Regions from separate parts of the Homo sapiens genome. Here regions 1, 2, 3, 4, 5 and 6 are each linked to region 7. Evidence: promoter capture Hi-C in 16 types of primary human blood cells and fetal thymus (Javierre and others, 2016). All regions are on one chromosome and are shown on one strand. The core of a region is centred on a gene start or on the middle of the fragment in contact, and the rest is flanking DNA. Distances in the headings are between cores, read along the strand shown.

Evidence for each region. The method cuts DNA at HindIII sites, captures the fragments that hold promoters and counts their contacts. A CHiCAGO score of 5 or more calls a contact.
Region 1: a fragment that was not itself captured here is called in contact with the fragment with the promoter of TCF12 in region 7 in 8 of 17 cell types (endothelial precursors, M0 macrophages, activated CD4 T cells and 5 more); the score reaches 10.3 in endothelial precursors.
Region 2: a contact is called between a fragment that was not itself captured here and the fragment with the promoter of TCF12 in region 7, in 1 of 17 cell types (fetal thymus). The highest score is 9.7, in fetal thymus.
Region 3: a contact is called between a fragment that was not itself captured here and the fragment with the promoter of TCF12 in region 7, in 1 of 17 cell types (fetal thymus). The highest score is 6.3, in fetal thymus.
Region 4: a fragment that was not itself captured here is called in contact with the fragment with the promoter of TCF12 in region 7 in 2 of 17 cell types (naive CD4 T cells and activated CD4 T cells); the score reaches 5.3 in naive CD4 T cells.
Region 5: a contact is called between a fragment that was not itself captured here and the fragment with the promoter of TCF12 in region 7, in 2 of 17 cell types (M2 macrophages and total CD4 T cells). The highest score is 5.3, in M2 macrophages.
Region 6: a contact is called between a fragment that was not itself captured here and the fragment with the promoter of TCF12 in region 7, in 1 of 17 cell types (fetal thymus). The highest score is 7.3, in fetal thymus.

Annotation. Positions count from the first base shown.
Region 1 is chr15:57,138,100-57,140,799 of GRCh38, forward strand. The region is part of intron 5 of TCF12 (transcription factor 12); the gene reads left to right. Among named protein-coding and RNA genes, the nearest start is that of SNORD13D, 140 kb to the right of the region's middle. The HindIII fragment of the contact is 784 bases long and covers 907-1,690 here.
Region 2 is chr15:56,710,629-56,713,328 of GRCh38, forward strand. All of the region lies in intron 1 of ZNF280D (zinc finger protein 280D), which reads right to left. Among named protein-coding and RNA genes, the nearest start is that of ZNF280D, 22 kb to the right of the region's middle. The HindIII fragment of the contact is 7,498 bases long and covers 1-2,700 here.
Region 3 is chr15:56,735,942-56,738,641 of GRCh38, forward strand. No RefSeq gene overlaps it. Among named protein-coding and RNA genes, the nearest start is that of ZNF280D, 3.8 kb to the left of the region's middle. The HindIII fragment of the contact is 5,857 bases long and covers 1-2,700 here.
Region 4 is chr15:57,171,491-57,174,190 of GRCh38, forward strand. The region is part of intron 6 of TCF12 (transcription factor 12); the gene reads left to right. Among named protein-coding and RNA genes, the nearest start is that of SNORD13D, 110 kb to the right of the region's middle. The HindIII fragment of the contact is 1,064 bases long and covers 734-1,797 here.
Region 5 is chr15:57,121,824-57,124,523 of GRCh38, forward strand. All of the region lies in intron 5 of TCF12 (transcription factor 12), which reads left to right. Among named protein-coding and RNA genes, the nearest start is that of SNORD13D, 160 kb to the right of the region's middle. The HindIII fragment of the contact is 3,911 bases long and covers 1-2,700 here.
Region 6 is chr15:56,674,546-56,677,245 of GRCh38, forward strand. It overlaps ZNF280D (zinc finger protein 280D), which reads right to left. Exons shown (of 22, transcript NM_017661.4): 13 at 2,125-2,271. Among named protein-coding and RNA genes, the nearest start is that of ZNF280D, 58 kb to the right of the region's middle. The HindIII fragment of the contact is 2,556 bases long and covers 1-2,553 here.
Region 7 is chr15:56,917,245-56,919,944 of GRCh38, forward strand. TCF12 (transcription factor 12) reads left to right here and starts at 1,400. Exons shown (of 21, transcript NM_207037.2): 1 at 1,400-1,662; 2 at 2,648-2,700. The coding sequence starts at 2,670. TCF12-DT (TCF12 divergent transcript) reads right to left here and starts at 1,255. Exons shown (of 4, transcript NR_015419.2): 1 at 296-1,255. RefSeq lists silencers at 560-699, 1,220-1,349, 1,520-1,569, 1,660-1,949, 2,000-2,439. The HindIII fragment of the contact is 11,533 bases long and covers 1-2,700 here.

The DNA.
Region 1 (2,700 bases), core at 49-2,548, 220 kb after region 7:
AAGCCAGTTCTCTCCTTGGTAGAGAACAAAGACAGGCAAAAGAGAAGAATTTCCAGTTTTTCCATTTTACTTTTACTTGTTAATATCACTGATGGCTAAATATTTCATGAAATTATACTTTGATGCTCATGTCTAAAATGACACTTCAGCGTTAACTAAAGATTTCTGTTTTTCATGTTTTTTCATTTAACACTGCTTCTCTACAGCTGAGCCTGGGTTTCAGTGTTTAAATCGGATCTTGGAAGAAGCTTTCTGTAAGCTTGGAATGTGCCTTATCTTAAAGCCTTCTTCTCTTACCCTGTTAACCATTCCTGGCTTAAAACCTTCAGAAGTCATGGGATGTGGGTTTGCCTGGGGAGTCTGCTGCCTCCAGTGGAAATTTAGGCAACTGCTATGGCTATTCCAGACAAGTACTTCACAGATAATCAGATCTGTTTCCTATCTAACCGAAAGGAAAAGTGTAAAGCTTAGAGGGGTAATTCATATATTCCACTTTATAAACCATTCTAACAGCCAGTTGTAGGAACAGGGCAGCTGTTTGTTTTTAAAATCACTTATTCTCAAAAGAGTTCATTTGGAGACAGTTAAAATAAGGCAATAGGCAGAAAGTGGTAGAGCTAGAAGAGGCCTAACTATGTTTATTGGGGTTCATAGATAAAAAGCAAATGACCAGGTATTTTCATTATAAGCCATTATGTAGTCATTTCTTTTTTAAGCGCGTGCTACCAATTGATGTTTTCAGTTATGAAGAGTTTTGCTGTTACTAAATGATCAAAATTTTAGGTTTAGAATATTGTAACTAATATTTCTGAAATTGAGAAAAATTTAAGTAAGTGAATATATGATTAAATTAACCAGTAGCTGAGATCATTTACCTATTTCAGTTGAGAACTTGAGCTAAAATTAAGCTTTATACATAATCCCAGTTCCAGAAAGGACCTTGAGAGGTCCTCTAGATAAGATCATATTTAGACTGTCCCAAACACATTAGCCTATAATTTAGACAAAATTAATCTCAGTCAGTCTCAGTCTGTTTTTCTCTCTCCCTTCTCACCTCTCCTTGACTTCTCTTTTTCTAGTTACTCTTCCTTCTCCAATATCCTTTCCTCTTGCTCTCGTAATCTCTGTCCCCTTACTTTCCTCTGCTCTAAAATTTCTTACTCATGTGTACCACAAGAATGATGGTCTTTTATAATCCGTTTTATGGCTATTAATTACATACACTAAATTTTCAAAGCAAAGACCTAATGTTCTATTGTATAGATGTTTCAGAAATCATCATACATATAACTAGATTTCAGCTGCATGTTGGTATCCATCCCTAAACAGTTTAAGGGTGTTAGCGGTGATTATGATAATTGGGAGCAGAAGACAGATTCTCTTGACTAGGCAAACTTTAGTGAATCTTAGTCCTTTTCCCTGGAAAAATTAATAGTATCACTCATTACATAGGGCTTTGCTCCTGCATAACTAAACCACCAGGGAGATCTTCCAGGTTCCTAGCCATCACCTTTATTTGCAAACACTAAAAAATCTCTAATGTTTACTTCTTTAAACCAAAAAAAAAAAGTTAGAGCATTATAGCTGTGGCCTGCATTCATAGAAAAAGTATGCTTGCACTAATGTTTAGGGGCTAGGAATATTAAAGCATTTGCTATGACACTCAAGAAAAAAGTAATAGTACCAAAAAAGCTTTATAGATGTTTTCATTCTTTAATTTCCATAATCTCCCTATAGAAGATCTGGAAATTACAGTAAGCCAGAAAAAGAGACAGTAAACTTCATTCACTCACAGTCCTATCATTCAGTCATTATCAGTATTAACATTTGGAGTATAGTAGATGCCGTCTTTCCCACAGAAATCGGACAGGCACTTTGCCATTTAATTAAAAACAGTTTATTCCTCAAAAAATCAACATAATTACCATATGATCCAGCAGTATTACTTCCAGGTACATACCCAAAAGAATTGAAAGCAAGATCTGAAAGAGACATTTGTACACCTATGTTCATATCAGCATTATTCCCAGTTAACCAAAGGATGGAAGTAACCAAGTGTGTGTTGATGAATGAATGGATGAACAAAATGTGGTATATGCATACAACAGAATATTATTGAGCCTTAAAAAGAAAGGAAATTCTGACACATGCTATAACATGGATGGATCTTGATAATGTTTTAATTGAATGAGTATGCTAAGTGAAATAAGCCAGTCATAAAAAGACAAATACTGTATAATTCCATTTCTGTGAAGTACCTAGAGTAGTCAGATTCATAAAGACAGATTATCGGGATCAGGAGGAACCTTAAAAGGTTCATCATCCAACAACCCTTGAGTATTTTAATCTCCTTTTATTCAACAAATATTTATAGATCATGTGCTAAGTGTCAGACGTTATGCTAAGGACTGTGGAAACAAAGGAAACAAGTTTGATAAGGTTCCTGCATTCATAGATCTAAGGCCTAATAGTAAAGCCTTCCATCACTTAGGGCTTGCTGATTACAAAGTGCCGTGTAATTATTGCAGATAGCCTTTATTTAACTATTTATTTGGGACACATAGTGGGCTAAGCCTTTGTGTATATTTATGCATTAAATTCAAATTCTATGAGATATAAACAAAATTATTTTATTTTATATTTGAGGAAACTGATGCTGAGATAATTGGTTTGCACAGGATTGAACAATTTACATTGCAA
Region 2 (2,700 bases), core at 37-2,536, 210 kb before region 7:
ATCTAAAATTAAACTGTATCTTATTTTTTCTATAAAAAAAATTAGAAATCAATGGAAATGTGGGTCTAAGTGTTTTAACTATCTGAAATTTTCACTTTCATCCATTGATAGATATCACCCGATGTACTGCTGCCGTGTTAAATAATATTAATACTGCATGTGATCAAGTACAGAGCACATACTATGGACACAGGTGTGCTATATACTAGATATAGTCCTCTTTACTTTCTGATAAGAAAAAAATTAAGCAATTTCACAAACTACAACTGTAGTATCTGCACATTTAAAAAAAGAATATCGCACTAGAAACCAGGAGAACCAAGTCATAGTACCAGCATGGCCACAACCTTCTGCCAAGTCATCTTCAATTCTAGCTCTCAGGCTTATAGTTCAACTGAAAGATTCTGGCTTAATTCAGCTCAAAATCTATTGTATACTTTAAACATTTAGTAACCATGAAGAGTAAAACATGGTGAAGAATGAATGCCAAATTCAAATTCTGACTCAATCACTTATTACCAATATGATGTTGGACAAGTTAGTTAACCTAGTGCCTTGCTTTACTGCTTTTTATACATACATTTACCATTTACATATACATAAAAAATAAAAATAGACTTATGTCATTGGATTATAGTGAAGATTAAATGAGATAATATATGTAAAACACATCTCAGTGCCTGGCACATGGAAACCACTCAACGATGTTTAACTATTTTTAACTCTGAGATAAATCCCATTTTAAAGAACTCGAGGCCAGGCATGGTGGCTCACACCTATAATTCCAGCACTTTGGGAGGCCGAGGCAGGTGGATCACTTGAGGTCAGGAGTTCAAGAACAGCCTGGCCAACATGGTGAAACCGGGACTCTACTAAAAATAAAAAAATTAGCCGGGCATGGTGGAGCATGCCTGTAATCCAAGCTACTCGGGAGGCTGAAGAAGAATGGCTTTAACCAGGAGGCAGAGGTTGCAGTAGTGAGCTGAGATCGTGCCACTGCACTCCAGTCTGGGTGACACAGCAAGACTCAGTCTCAAAAAAACAAAAAAAAGAACTGATCCCAATTCTGTTATACTGGAATTTACGTGCTATCAGCTAAGCATTTAGAAATCATTTTGTTTTATGGTCATGCATCACTTAACAACAGGGATAAGTTCTGACAAATGTATCATTAGATGATTTTGTAGTTGTGAGAACATCGTAGAGTCTACAGTACTTACACAAACCTAGATGGTATTGCCTACTACACATCCAAGCTATATGGTATAGCCTATTGCTCCTAGGCTATAAACCTGTATAGCATGTTACTGTACTGAATACCGCAGGCAATTATAACACAAATCACTAGGTAATAGGAATTTTTCAGTCCATTATAATCTTACAGGACCACCGTATTATATAATGCAGTCTGTCCTTGACCTAAACATCATTATGTGGTACATGACCTTCATTACAGTGAAATTTCTCATGATGAAATTTTAGCTTTATATCTTCCAGACTGTGGCTGTCAAATCTATCCTACCACATTTTCATCTTTTTAAAAAAGCATTTCTAAACTAATTAAAATATACACCAAAAAAAATTTTAACCCTCATATAAACATAACACACTGTTAAATTACATACTACTAATCTAATAGAATAAGTATCCAATTCAAAAGTACCAACATATAAAAATTAACATTTAGATAAGGTATCTTTACACCATTTCTATTAAGAAAAAAACGTTCAGGCTGGGCATAGTGGCTCATGCCTCTAATTCCAGCACTTTGGGAGGCCAAGGTTGGAGGATGACTTGAGCTCAGCCTGGGCAATATGGCAAAACCCCATCTCCACAAAAAATACAAGAAAATTACTGGGAGTGGTGGCACATGCCCCTGGTCCCAGCTATAAGAGGTTGAGGCTGCAGTGAGCCGAGACTGGGCCACTGCACTCCAGCCTGGGTGACAGTGTGAGACCCTCATACCAAAAAAAAAAAAAAAAAAAAAGGAAAGAAAGAAAAGAAAAAACACTCATTCTACATGTATCTTAGTATTTTATTTTCTAAAAAATAAATAAATAAATAGCTGGTAATTAAAACACAAAAGTGATTATGAGGAACATGGTGAATGGCTTTTTTTTTTTTTTTTCTGAGGTGGAGTCTTGCTCTGTTGCTCAGGCTGGAGAGCAGTGGCACCATCTCAGCTCACTGCAACCTCCACCTTCCAGGTTCAAGTGATTCTCCTGCCTCAGCCTCCCGAGTAGCTGGGATTATAGGTGCGCACCATCATGCCCAACTAATTTTGTATTTTTGGTAGAGATGGGGTTTCACCATGTTGGCCAGGCTGGTCTTGAACTCCTGAACTCAAGTGATCTGCCCGCCTTGGCCTCCCAAAGTGCTGGCATTACAGGTGTGAGCCACCATGCCCGGTCAAATGGTTAACTTCTACATCTCCCCCAATCCCATAAATTCAAGATATAAAATCAATGAAATAATCCAAAAAATCACATTATAAAGTTAATCTTTCTTTTTGTCTCCCCACCATACAAATGTTTTAATTGGGGATTGCATTACTAACCAAGAAGTTGGCAACACCAAAACAAGATATGATCAACTTAATAGATACAAAAAACTATTTCAAATAGTGAAAATTTATACTCAAAATAAGTATTGCACATAAAAATGAAGTTCAACTAACTCATAAAGTTAGCTCAAGATAAT
Region 3 (2,700 bases), core at 58-2,557, 180 kb before region 7:
AAACATTGTATGTTCTCGTAAGTGGGAGCTATGTTATAAGGATGCAAAGACATAGTAATGATAGAGTGGACTTTGGGGACTCCGGGGAGAGCGTGAGAGGGGAGTGAGGAATAAAAGACTATACATTGGGTAGAGTGTATACTGCTCGGGTGATGGGTGCTCCATAATCTCAGAAATCACCACTAAAGAACGTATTCATGTAACGAGACACCACCTGTTCTCCAAAAACCTATGAAAATAAAAAGTAAAAATAATAAAATGATGGCATCCTATTATTTTTATTTATAACAGGATGAAAGAGAAGATTGCACTCTGTATTCTAGAGTCTAGTCCTCACTTTGTAGAGACAAAAGCTCAATGTTGCCAGTCTCCAGAACTAATTTGAATCCTGGGGGATGATTCATACCAACCAAACTTACTGAGACACATGTGTAAGCCAAAATTGCAATTATTTTTTGTTGTTGTTCATGAAAAACACAACTGCCATGGAGACCAAAAAGCTGGTTAATGTATTTTCATTCAAAGGAACATTTACGTGAGAGGCCAAATTACAAAAGATGACTCATGAGAATAGAATCAGCACACAGGAAGTTATTTGGATGATTCTGACATCGTCCTTCAAACTTCTGACATCATACGCCCTTGGCCTCTAGAACGCCGTTCTTTTGGTTCTCCTGACTTACGGTCTGAGCTTTCCCACCATTTTTTATGAGCTTCTCTGACTTACATTCTCAGCCTGTTCTACATGTTACACACTTGCTATAGATATCCTCACAGTACTCATTCTCCTTAAGTGAGATTATGCTCCACATCCTTACCTGAATTATTGCAGTGAATATGGGTGATCTCCCAGCTTTCATTCCACAATTACTTTGTGTTCATCCATGCAATTTGGACAGACGTAATACACCGCACAGCAGGTCCAAGAATTGTCCAACTGGCCAAAAGTTATCAGAGTTACCCTCACCCTTTGAACTAGTTTTTGTTTCAGAGGCCAATCAGAGGGAAGCCTAGGATTTTTGTTTTATTGCAGAGAATACAGAAGTTCTTTTTTTTCTCTGAATGGTATGGCATTCAAATGTAAATACTGGAAGAGCTACATTCTCCCTCTTTTTTTTTTCTTTGCTACTAAGTAGAGCCAACTGAAAATAAAGCCAACACGTGAAGGAGGAATAGCTGGGAGAATCAATCATAGGGAAAGGAAGCCAATCCCTGAGAGAATCATAAACCTTCAAATAAAACATCACCGGAACCCATACTGCCTCTAGACTTTTCTGGTTTATGAGCTAATAAATCACCTTTGTTGTTTAAGCTGAAGGGATCCAGAATAAGCCATTGTGGCATAAAAATTATTTTGAGCTGAATATGTTTATGTTCCTGAAATCCCTTATCTACCTAAAAGCAGAGCCTTTCAAAAGAACCCAAAAGAACTCAATTGTTATAAATTCCCTCCAGGGAGCAACCAAGGAAGATTGAGTCACCGTCAGAGACTATGAGAATGTCACCACATCTAAACAGACATTGTCAAAACAACTATGATATCTCCCATCTATTCTCCAAAGGGCCCATTTATCTTTCCCAAAAGTCATTTCCGTAAGTTCCCTTTCTGCTCCTTCCCCTTCTAAGAAGTCATTTGTTTTCCCATAAGTGCTTTTCTCCCCCTCCCCTTCAGGGAAGTATATCAGTCTCTAAGCCCCAAATTCTAACCACCCTCTGGAGTCAACACTTCCTTGTGATCTCCTTACGTACATATGTGATTAAAATCTGTCTTCTCTTGTCCTTTGTCAGTTTATTCACAGGCCCCCAATTATAGAACCTCAAAAAGTAGAAGAAAAGTTTTTCCTCCCCCACAAGGCCAATTTGAGTTGAATTTTCTCTTACCTGCAACTGAAATCATCGTTAAGTGTGACAGAGATAATGATACATATTCACCATCTTATTTTCCTCTTTGCACCCAGGAAACCTATGTTTCCCAGCTTCCTTACCTTTTATATTGGGCTGTGTAACTAATTCTGGACAGTGGAATGTAAACAGAAGCAGTGACCCTCCCATGCAAGCCTGACCTTAAAACTTCCAGTAATTTATAGTTCCTATTTGTTTTTCACACACCAGTCAGCTAGATACAGAAAACTCTGAGAAGCTGGGGGATGGCAGCAACATTATATAGAAGGACTCTGGGTTTCTTAAAAATTGCATCAACACACTGATCCTCACTGGACTGATTGGAGCAAAAAATAAACCTTTATTGGGTTAAGACCCTGAGATTTGAGGGTGGTTTGTTGCAATAGCTCAAATCACTAACTCTGATTAATAATAGTGATGGCCTACAATGATAAAAACTAAAATGTGTGTCATTAGCTTAGCACAGCAATCAGGTGGGAATCGAGGAAATAGATGTAGGAGGGTGGACAGCTGAAGGTTCACTTTAGGCAGTGGCTAAACTCTTGCTTACAATATCTCACAAGGCAGATTAGTATCTACATAACTTGTAGAGCTAAGGGAAGAGTTCAGAAAGCAATATTAATGGTAGAGGTTGGTGATTTTTGATATTTTTAGCAAGATGTTATCAGAAGGAGATTAGCATAGAACAGAATTAACCAGTTTATTGTTGGGGGCGAAGGAAATTTTTCACATCTGAAGGTTTGAGTCTGCTGAAATTACCAACAACAGAGAGAATAACAGGAGAAAAGGCATACAAAG
Region 4 (2,700 bases), core at 16-2,515, 250 kb after region 7:
AAACACCACATTAAAACCATTTTTCTTCAACAGAATTCCCCAAGGAGCATTAACTCTGCTATTAATGTACATAAAATGCTGCTGACATACTGCAAAATTCAGACTAATTTAATAATGCCTGATGGGCCTTACTTCATGTTAAGATGATGTAATAATATGTTGCTAAATGAGTGTCATCATATTACATTCACAACAATCACATTAACTGATGAGCCATTAAAAGGAAACTCATGTGGCAGTATTACTGGAAACACTGATAGATCATTCTGCAGTTAAATTTTTTTATTGATGAAACACAGAGCATAGAAGCCAGTGTCTTTATTAATAATAGGTATATCACTTTAAAAACTACCACAGTTAAGTGAAAAATCCTTTTATCAGTATAACAAAGTTTTTCATTTATACCTCTTAAGCAAGTATTTATTCACATAGTTTCATAAGTTTTTCTCTAAGTGTTTAAATGTAGAAGGTGGCAGGGTCTTGGTTTTTTTCAGAAAGTGTGAAGTTCATCTGAGTTCAGATATTATACCCTTGAAAAAATGACAGCTTTAAAAACTGTACCTTACTTAACTCTTAGTTGTTTGGAGATAAGCTTATACCATTTGGTTTTTCCTTGTTCTTTTTTCCTGTTATACCCAATCTCATATGCAGACATTTATAATAATAAAATAATAAAAGAGTTGATGTATCAGAAAGACATAACAATGACAGATGTGTATACGCCTAATAAGAAAGCTTCAAAACGAAGCAAAACAAAAATTGATAGAATTAAAGAGAGAGATAAACAAATTGACAATCATGCTTGGAAAATTGAATACTTCTGTCTTAGCAGTTTGCAGAATAACTAGACAAAAAACTTAGTAAAGATGTAGAACAAAATTAACTATCGACAACCTTGACCTAAATGATATGTATAGAACTCTGCATACAACAACTGAAGAACATAAATTCCTTTCAGGGGCACACATTACACTAACAGGCTGGAATCATACGCTGGTCCATAAAACTAGTGTCAGTAAATTGGAAAGGTTTGAAACCATACAGAGTATGTTCTCTGGACACAAAAGACTTAAATAAAAACTCTGATGAGAACTCAGGGACACAAAGAAGGCACCTGTAGACACGGGGGCCTCCTTGAAGGTAGAGGGTGGGAGGAGGGAGAGGATCAGAAAAAATAGCTATTGGGTGCTAGGCTTACTTCTTGGGTGATGAAATAACGTGTACAAACCTCCCCGACACGAGTTTACCTATATAACAAAGCTGAACATGTGCCTCTGAATCTAAAATACAAGTTTAGTAAAAAGCAAAGTTGTATTAGAAGTCAGTAAGACTAGGTGTGGTGACTCATGCCTGTAACCCCAGCCCTTTGGAAGGCCGATTCAGGAGGATCACTTGAGCCCAGGAGTTCAAGACCAGACTGAGCAGCATAGTTAGACTCTGTCTCTATTAAAATTAAAAAAAAAAAAAAGAAAACTAGTCAGGTGTGGTGGCAGGAGGCTGAGGCGGGAGGATTGCTTGAGCCCAGGAGTTCGAGGCTGCAGTGCGCTGTTATTGCACTGCTGCACTCCAGCCTGGGCAACAGAGCAAGACTCTGTCTCAAAAACCAATGTCAGTAAGATATCTAGAAAAACACCAGATGTTCAGAAGTTAAGCAACATGTTTAAATGACCCATTGTTTTAAAAAGAAACCACAGGAAATTCAGAAGATATTTCTAACTGAATAATAATGAAAATGTGATATAACAAAATGTGTTGGTGCATCTAAACCAGTGCCTTGAAGGAAAGTATACTTTTGAAAGCTTGTATTAGAAAAGATGTACAGTGAATGACCAAGATTCTGCCCTAAGAACTTAGCTAGAAAAAGAAACACAAAGTAAACCCAAAATAAATAGAAAGAAGGAAATACTACAAATAAGAGCAGAAATCAATGTAATAGAAAAAACTAACAAAACCAAAATTTGGCTATTTGAAATAAATCATAAAGTTAACCCCTAGCTAGACCAGTTAACACAAGGGGAAGGAGAAGAGAACAAGAACACAAATTACCAGAATCTGGAATGAAAGAGAGGTTACTGCTATGAATCATATATACATTAAGAATATAATAAATATTATAACTTAGTAAATTTGACAACTTAGATTAAATAAATGAATTCCTTGAAAAATACTTACCAAGAGGAGACAAATTGAAACAAAATCTGAATCCATGTATATCTTTTTTTCTTTTTTTTTTTTTAGACAGAGTCTCACTCTGTTACCCATGCTGGAGTGAAGTGGTGCTATCTCGGCTCACTACATCCTCCGCCTCCCAGGTTCGAGTGATTCTCCTGCCTTAGCCTCCTGAGTAGCTGGGACTACAGGTGCCCGCCACCACGCCTGGCTAATTTTTGTATTTTTAGTAGAGATGGGGTTTCACCATATTGGCCAGGCGGGTCTCAAACCCCTGACCTTGTGATCCCCCCGCCTCAGCCTCTCAAAGTGCTGGAATTACAGGCGTGAGCCACTGCACCCGGCCTGTATATCTATTAATGAAAGTTAATTCATATCAAAAACCTTCCCACAAAGAAAGCATAAGGGTCATATGGCTTCTTTCAAAATGATTAATTCTTTCAAATGCTTAGGAAAAAAATAATACCAATTTTATACAAGTTAGTTTAGAAAACAGAGGAAGAGTGAACATTTCTCAGCTCTTTTTATCAG
Region 5 (2,700 bases), core at 106-2,605, 200 kb after region 7:
AAAGGAATAATGTTCATGGATACAGCTCTATTGTTCCTGGAATTCTTGGGGAAGATTCTTTGGAGTTTTGTGGAGTTATATATAACTTACTAGGTTGTCCTTGCCATATTTTTATGATGGTGAGTGAACACAGTATACCTATGGGTGAGATTAGAATAAAATAGAGATTTTTATTTGTGTATTACATATTTAGCCAACATTTATTGTCTACTATATGCTATTCTATTTAAAATGTTTTCACTTTTCCTGCTTCTTATCTCCTTGTTTCCTTGTACAAAAAAAAAAAAAAAACCACCCCCAAACCTGCCCATGCTTCATAGTCCTGTTCAAACATCACCTCATTTTTAAAGTCTTGCTTGATTTTTTTTTTTCACATTTTTTTCACCATGGCACCTTTGAGGAAATAAAAATTTGCCTTGTGTTATAGCTTTAAGTCCCCTTCATCAGAGCTTAAGCAATCTTAGGAGAGATGCATGTTTGATTTCCTGAAACATAATCACTGGACTTCATGTTTGTGGCCAAAAAACAAAACAGAAAGACAATGTAATTCTCATTATAATGATCATATATACTAGTAACTACAGTTTGTTCAGCACATACCTGTAAGCCAGGCATTGTAAGAAGTGTTTATATTCATTATTTCATTCAATTCTTTTAACAGCATTATTTTATGGGTATAGAAACAAACTTGAGAAGTCAACTAACAAACTTGCTGCAGCGACTATTAAGTTGTGATTGAGGAAGTAGAACGAACTCAGATTTCTCTGACTCCAAAGTACATGTTCTTAAAATACAATGCTGTGCTACTACTATAGTTTCTCAGCTTCAAAGAGAACCACCAGAAGAGCCAATTCATCCCATCATTTTATTTCCTGGTTTTGTTTTTGTTAGGACCTTTGGAATGTATCTGTTAAATACAATTAAATTTGGAATGCAGTATTTAGAAAAATGTGTATTCACTAGATCTCTTACAAACTGGTCATAAACTAAGCCTTCTAAGAGTGAGGCTCATAAATTAGGATGTGTTCATTAGTTGTAGAAAAAATTGAACAGAGATTTGAAAGGGATTTATTCTTTCTACATAAAATAGATAAGCAGAGCAGACCAACTAAAAAACAGCTTTTTAAAATAATTTAATGGAAAGGGGTCTCAGATTATTGTGGAGAAAAGGTTGAGTGGATGAGAAAATCAAACATTTAAACTAAATGCAAAATAATTACCAACATTGAAGCAAAAAAGACAGATGTCATTCACAACAATGAATGATACAATAGTAAACTTCCTGCCTTTATGTGTGTTTCTTTCTTGTTAAATTCAAACTTTAGCTCTTTGCTATGTCAGAAAATTTTTGCTTTTACATGGCTTTGATGATTTAAATGAAGTGAATGAGCATGAACGAAAATAATTCTTAAGTGAATGAAAGTCTGAGGCTTTTGCAATAGAAAGTATATAATTAGCATTATTTTTGGTAATGAGCTTTATTTTGAAGCTGAAACCACTGCTAACAATGTTTAAAATTTTTTAATTTCCTTGTTTCTTTAAATGATTTATTTGGGATACTAACACAGAGTTAAATAACTTTGAATTCCATTGTAAGATTCTTTTAAAGTATTTTGTTTGAAAGTCTTTCATTTCTTCTAATTAGGTAGACAATCTCCATTTGCTGCTAAGGCAACTCTACCACTTCTCTTTTTTTTTTTCTTTTTTTAAGACAGGATCTTGCTTTGTTGTCCAGGCTGGAACATAGTGGCACAATCTCAGCTCACTGCAACCTCAGCCTCCTGAGTAGATGGGACTACAGGCGAGCACCACTACACTCAGCTAATGTAAAAAAAAAAAGTTTTAAGGCCGGGTGCAGTGGCTCATGCCTGTAATTCCAGCACTTTGGGAGGCCGAGGCGGGTGGATCACGAGGTCAGGAGATCGAGACCATCCTGGCTAACACAGTGAAACCCCATCTCTACTAGAAAAGTACAAAAAACAAAAAAATAGCCGGGCCTGGTGGCAGGCGCCTGTAGTCCAAGCTACGCAGGAGGCTGAAGCAGGAGAATGGCGTGAACCCGGGTGAACCCGGGAGTCAGAGCTTGCAGTTAGCCGAGATGCGCCACTGCACTCCAGCCTGGGCGACAGAGTGAGACTCCGTCTCAAAAAAAAAAAAAATTTTTTTTTTTTTTCCATAGGGACACAGTCTCACATTGCCCAGGCTGGTCTCAAATTCCTGAGCTCAAGTGATCCCGCTACCTCAACCTCCCAAAGTGCTGGGATTATAGATGTGAGCCACTGTGTCTGGTTTAATTCTTGAGTCTCTCCTCTAAAGGCCTCTGGCTCAGAATCTAAAGCAGGAAGTTTCTGTTCATGGCAAATGCTGCTGATTTTCCATTCTGTTCTAGTGGAGTTTTTCATATACTTTGGTTTCCATGTTTTTGATTCCACTTTGTTCCATAGAGATTTATCATTTTCATTTCCTGTTACTTGATTTCAGCAAAACATTGATGTGAGGAAAATATTAAATAGTACAGCTATGACAAACAATGCTGAGACTGGCTAGGGAATTTGGGAGCTAGCATGTTTGGGTATCTTTGGCTCCATCATCCCCTGTAGAATTCTGGGCACTCTGGTTGACTTCACCTTGGCCAGCATGATGGGGGCCTTCTTCATGGATCCGATTGAACTGGTTACCATGGGTGTTCCAGACTTCCCA
Region 6 (2,700 bases), core at 26-2,525, 240 kb before region 7:
TTGGATGCTAAGTCAAATTTTGACTCTGCCTTTATTAGACAATGTGACATTAGGCAAGTTACTTTCTCTAAAGCTCTGTTTCCTCATCTATAAAACTGAAATAATAATATACATCTAGTGGTTGAGAGGATTAAACAAGAAAATGCATGTAAAGTACCAGCTGCTGCCATAAGGTAAGTAATTAGTGTATGTTAACTGCTTGTTTTATTAAAGCTCTAATGAGCATATTTAACACATCTGGAATTTCTATCAATATTTCTTAAAAGTCACACAAACTGGGTTATTAACTCTAAAATCACTAAAGACATAATAATATAATCTTTAAAAAAAGTTACAACTGAGTTCTTCAAAGACAATAAAATGAGGCATGGAGTCAACTATTCTGATTGTCTAATACTTTGGTAATAATGTTATCTCAACTACAAGTTTATAATCCCACTCAGCTATGGTTTTCCAGTCTTGTAAATCATTACACAAATTGTAAATACCTTCAAAGATGCCCAATGATCCTTACTAATAGACTGCCCCCTCTTTACTGCTGGCTATCTACCTCCCAGGCACTCCAAACAAAAAAGAAAATTGGCAGCCATGGCAAGTTAAAACATACAACTCAGGGCATGACAACTTGCTTATAAATCACACAGGCACATAGCAGGTCCCCAAATCTCTACCATAGTTACTATTCTTCCCACATCTCTATCTCACTCTATAGTTTGACAAAGCACCTGGGAAAGATTATGTTTAAAAACCCCATCGTGAACTAGAGCTACTGCTTTATACCTCATTCTCCCTTTCAAAATTAAAGTCCAAAGATGAAATACGGGGTATCAAGAATAGTGTTTCCCAAATTCTGTTCATAAAGAAATGCACTAAGGGTGATGAAGATACTTTTTTTTTTTTATAACACTATGTTCAACAAAACAAACAGTGATCTATTCCAAGAATAAATAAATATCTGTATTAAATTTTTTATAAGTATACTACATTGTTTGGGAGACTTGAGAGATTTACAGGTAATTCTTACTATATGTAATTTACTATATGTAATTGGGGAAACCTTAGAATAGATCTTGCCAGAAACTCTCAAGGATGTGTGGCATCCTAGTCACAACACATATGATCCCAAATTGATCTGGAAATTCTACTTTCATGATCTTCTCCAATTAAAAACAGCAAGTCAATTTCATGACTTAACTAACAACTGAAAATGACAGCAAAGTGAGCACCAATGCTGAATAAATTGGCATGTCAATTTAATCAATAATAAGAGAATGTATTGAGCTTTGTAGTGAGTTGACAAAATTTGATTACATGATCAGATTCGGTAAATCCATTGGTTTCTAATTTTGGCAAAGGCACTGTTGTTCTTTCAAGCACGCAAGAACAGGATTAGTATTGCATCAAAATTTTTAGCCCAAATAAAAGATGGTTTAATTGCTTCAGGAAAAGAGCCAATAAGCATAATATCAGAATTCAAGGGAGGGGTACAAGCACTAATATTGAGTTCCAAAATTATATAGCAAAACTGGTGGAAGCCATCCAGGGAACAAGTGATGATCTAAATATAGTTCTCTGCCAGAGTTCATATACTGATCAGTAAGTGTCATTACTATTCCCATGGTCACACAACTATAAAAGACAACTCCAGGTCAATGACAACATGTCTTCTCATAATGATAAGGGGTTAGAAAGTTGAAATAAAGTTTGAAGAGCAAAACGAAAAATAAGATTATAAATCCTCAGTCTTTTCTTCCTCAGTTCAAACTCATTATTCCCTTTGTCCTGATAACTCCCTTCAAAATCATTCTCATATCTACCTTTAGACCCTGAAATATTCAATCTTTTGGATATTCCACTCAACTTTTTCTTTTTCTGTCAATCCTCAGCTTCCTATTTCTAGCTATCTTTCAGAATTTTCATTATTTATGACCCACACCATCACCAGAAAGGAAGTAAGGAAAAGAAGTGGAATTTTCACAAGCAATTCAACTTGAAGTGTAAATTAATAGTGTCATTTGGAACAACTCTGCTTCTCTTGCAGAACAAATCTAAAGATTCTCCAAGTCATAATCAGTTTTTTCACTAAGACAACATAATAAACAAATAAGAACTGGTAAATCTCACCTGATGCTTCATATAATGATGCATATATGGTGTTGCAATTTTAATAACTTTGAGGCAAAACGGGCATAGCAAGTTCTTAGTGTTTTCATGGGATGTTCTAAAATGAGTTTCTACATCAGAAAATGATGATGATCTATAATTACAAACCTAAAAAAAGAAAGAAGGCTTAGTTTAACTTGAAAATTTAAAACTGATATGCAATTACAAAGGAACAATGATGGATAATTTGTCAGGAGAACATTATGTACTACTAATCTAGCTCTGATGCCTTTGCAACCAAGAATCTCACTAAGGCAACACCAAAAGACCATCTTTGAGACATTAAACGTAGCTTTCAAAGTTAAGGGATACATCCCAAAACAAAACTAGATCTCCTTCTCTTTATCAGATCTTTTTATCTATCACCTTCTGTCTTGACTTGAAGTTTCAAGCTTTAGCACCTCTTGCTCTATAAAATGTTTTTCTGCTACATGAAACAGCATTCTCCTTTAGATTGTTAATGGCCTCCAGGTTTATGGCAATGGCAATTTATCTTTTCCTTGCTTTCCTCTTCCTTCAAATTCTTCTTCTTTGGAA
Region 7 (2,700 bases), core at 150-2,649:
GCCTGAAAATACATGAAAATATAGAGCCTAAAATATAGCCTGAAAATGTACTGAAAATATAGAGATTTCTTTGGATGATTATTTCCTAAATACACCTTAACAACTATTCACATAGCATTTGCATTGTATTAGGTTTTATAAGTAATCTAGATATGATTTAAAGTATATGGGGAAACACACCATTTTTATGTAAGAGACTTGAACATCTTAGAAAATCCAGAGTCTGGGAACCAATCCCACGGATATAGAGACAACTGTACTAACTACAGTAATGGCATATGGTAGCTGAATCTACCTCTCTTTCCATCCCAGTCCGGAATCCAAAGGCTCCTTCTTGCCATGTTGTCCTCGGGCGTTGGCTGCTTCCTCCCATTTGTTACTTTGGAAGTGTCTTCTTTCCTCAGTGTTTCTTCTGCGTGGGCCTTACCGGTCTTTACTGCACTCACTTACCTAAGAGGCAAAACAATGGCTGCCATTCAAGAAAATCTCACTTCAGCCCAGAATCGAAGAACTGGGGCTTATTTTGTCTTCTTTCTACTCTGGGGCTTCTCTGAGGCCAAGTTCAGAACTTGTGCACAAGACAGTGGCTGTGTGACAGAGCCACCCAGGGCTGTCTCCGTTAGATGAAGAGACTGGCTTGATCCATTCCCAAGAACTAGTCCCACGTGCAGTTCGGTTGCTCCGAATGGGATTTGGGTGCGAGGGGCTGACTGGAGATGTGGGGTCTGGGTGAGTGGGGTATTTGAGAACCTGAAGCTCACAAGGCTTTGTCTGGTTTGAGGTACGTTTTGCCCTTTCTCCCGCATTCGGCTCTGCATCGAATCTGACCGGCCGCGCCTACTCTCGGAACGGCCGAGGAGGATGGGTCTCCCGTCTCCACACGCGCGGTGTCTGCGCCGACTGCAGCCCTCCTGGACGGGAGCCTCTGGGCCCAGCTTAGGGTGGCGTCCAGCGTGACCTACTCGGGAATGGCAGCCTTCAGTGTCCTGCGGCCTCGGGTTCCGGGAAGCTCGGGGACCTGGGCAGCGGATCCAGATGCTTCCACAGCTGTGTCTCCGTCGCTCCGCTTCGGGGGCCGAGAACCAGCAAGACCAACGCGAGGAGGCGCCACGGTACCTGCCACCCCGCTCCCAGGAGGCCCGGACGAGGCTTCGTCGGCGAGCGGTCGGGGCCTGCTTCTCGAGGTGCCTGCGAGCGCCTCATGCCCCTCCCCACCGGCCCCAACTCCGTCCCGCCTCACCCGACCGCGGGCTTTGTCCACCCGCCGCGGTGCGGCTCCTCCCAGTCCCCGACAGCTCCTCCCCGCCCCCTCTGCCGGCCCCACTTCCTAGGCGGCGGAGCGGGTCGGGGAGGGAAGGGTTAACCCGCGGCTCTTCCCGGCGCGGAGGGATCCGGAGGCGAGCCGAGCGCGGTGGTGAGGCCGCCTCAGCGAAAAAAATGTCCGCCTGAAGAGACCCACAAGTTCTATTCGGGGGGACCGACAGCCCGCCCCGGGAGGAAGGGGCGGCCAGGCCCGAAAGCCGCCTCCCCCTCCCAGACCCGAGAGCTCGTGCGGGGCAAAGTGAACCGAGCCGCTGGGCGGTGCAAGGGGAAGCCCAAGCCCGTTCTCCCGGCCAAAGTGAACTTTAATCGGGGTGGTTGGATGCGGAGACGGGGCGGCAGGTAATTGCGGGCTAGCGAGCGGGAGTGGGGCGGCGCGGCGGGGCTGGGGGCTGCGGGGCGCCGCCGCGTCCCTGCCGGAGTGGGGGCGCCCCCGTCCCCCGCCTCAACTCCGCGCCCCTTTGTACAGCGCGAAACCCGGGGTCCCCTCCAAGTTGGGGAGCGGAGTGGGGGCGGAGGCTCGAGTCGCGGGCGCTCAGGCCCGCTGGCGGCGCGCTCGGCCTGTGCGCCCCGTTCGGTGCCCGACTCGGGCCGGCGCCCAGGCTCCGGGGCGCGCGGGAGATCGGGCGGCTTCGGCCGCGGAGCCAGGCTCATTGTTCGGCAGGTCCGGGGCAGGGCAGCAAAAGTGGGAGGAGGCCGAGCCTGGGGAGGAGGACGCCGGCCGAGAGCGAGACTAGTTGTCGGGGTTTCTGTTTTCTGTTTAAAAACGCCCCTTGGATGAGCTGGGGGTGCTTTCCGACCTCCTGGGCCCGCCGGGGACGTCCGGGCGGCGGCGGCCGCAGACGCGGGCCTGCGAGCGGCGCGTTCCCTGCAACTTGTCAGTTCTATTGTTGCCGAGCGAGTGAGTCACTTCGCATCTCCGCTCGCCGCCGCTCCGCTCGCTGGACGCCGAATTGCCCCTCACCCCGCTCCTCGAGACCCCAGCCGCGGCCGGGCCCGGCGCGCGGAGCACCCGGCGGCGGCGCGGAGCAGGGGGCGCCGAGGAGGTGGCAGAGACTGGCTCGGAAACTTGGGGGAGAGGCGGCGAGTTGCGGGAGCCGCCGCGTCGATCTCGGGCCGCGGCGAGGAACGCGTGGATTCCGGGACCCGGCGCGGGCACTGAGCCCTCCCGCCCCTTGCTCGCGCCGCGGTGGGAGCGAGTCGGGGTCCTGGAAGTCATCCCGGCGCCCCCAGCGCTCTTGCGTAATCTTCCCCAGTACCTCTCTCTGTTCCCTCACACACTTTGGGCCTCGGTGGTCTCTCGCTGAGCCCGTTTCCTCTGCCCTAGGACCTGCTAGAAGTGGCCGAAGATGAATCCCCAGCAACAACGCATGGCCGCTA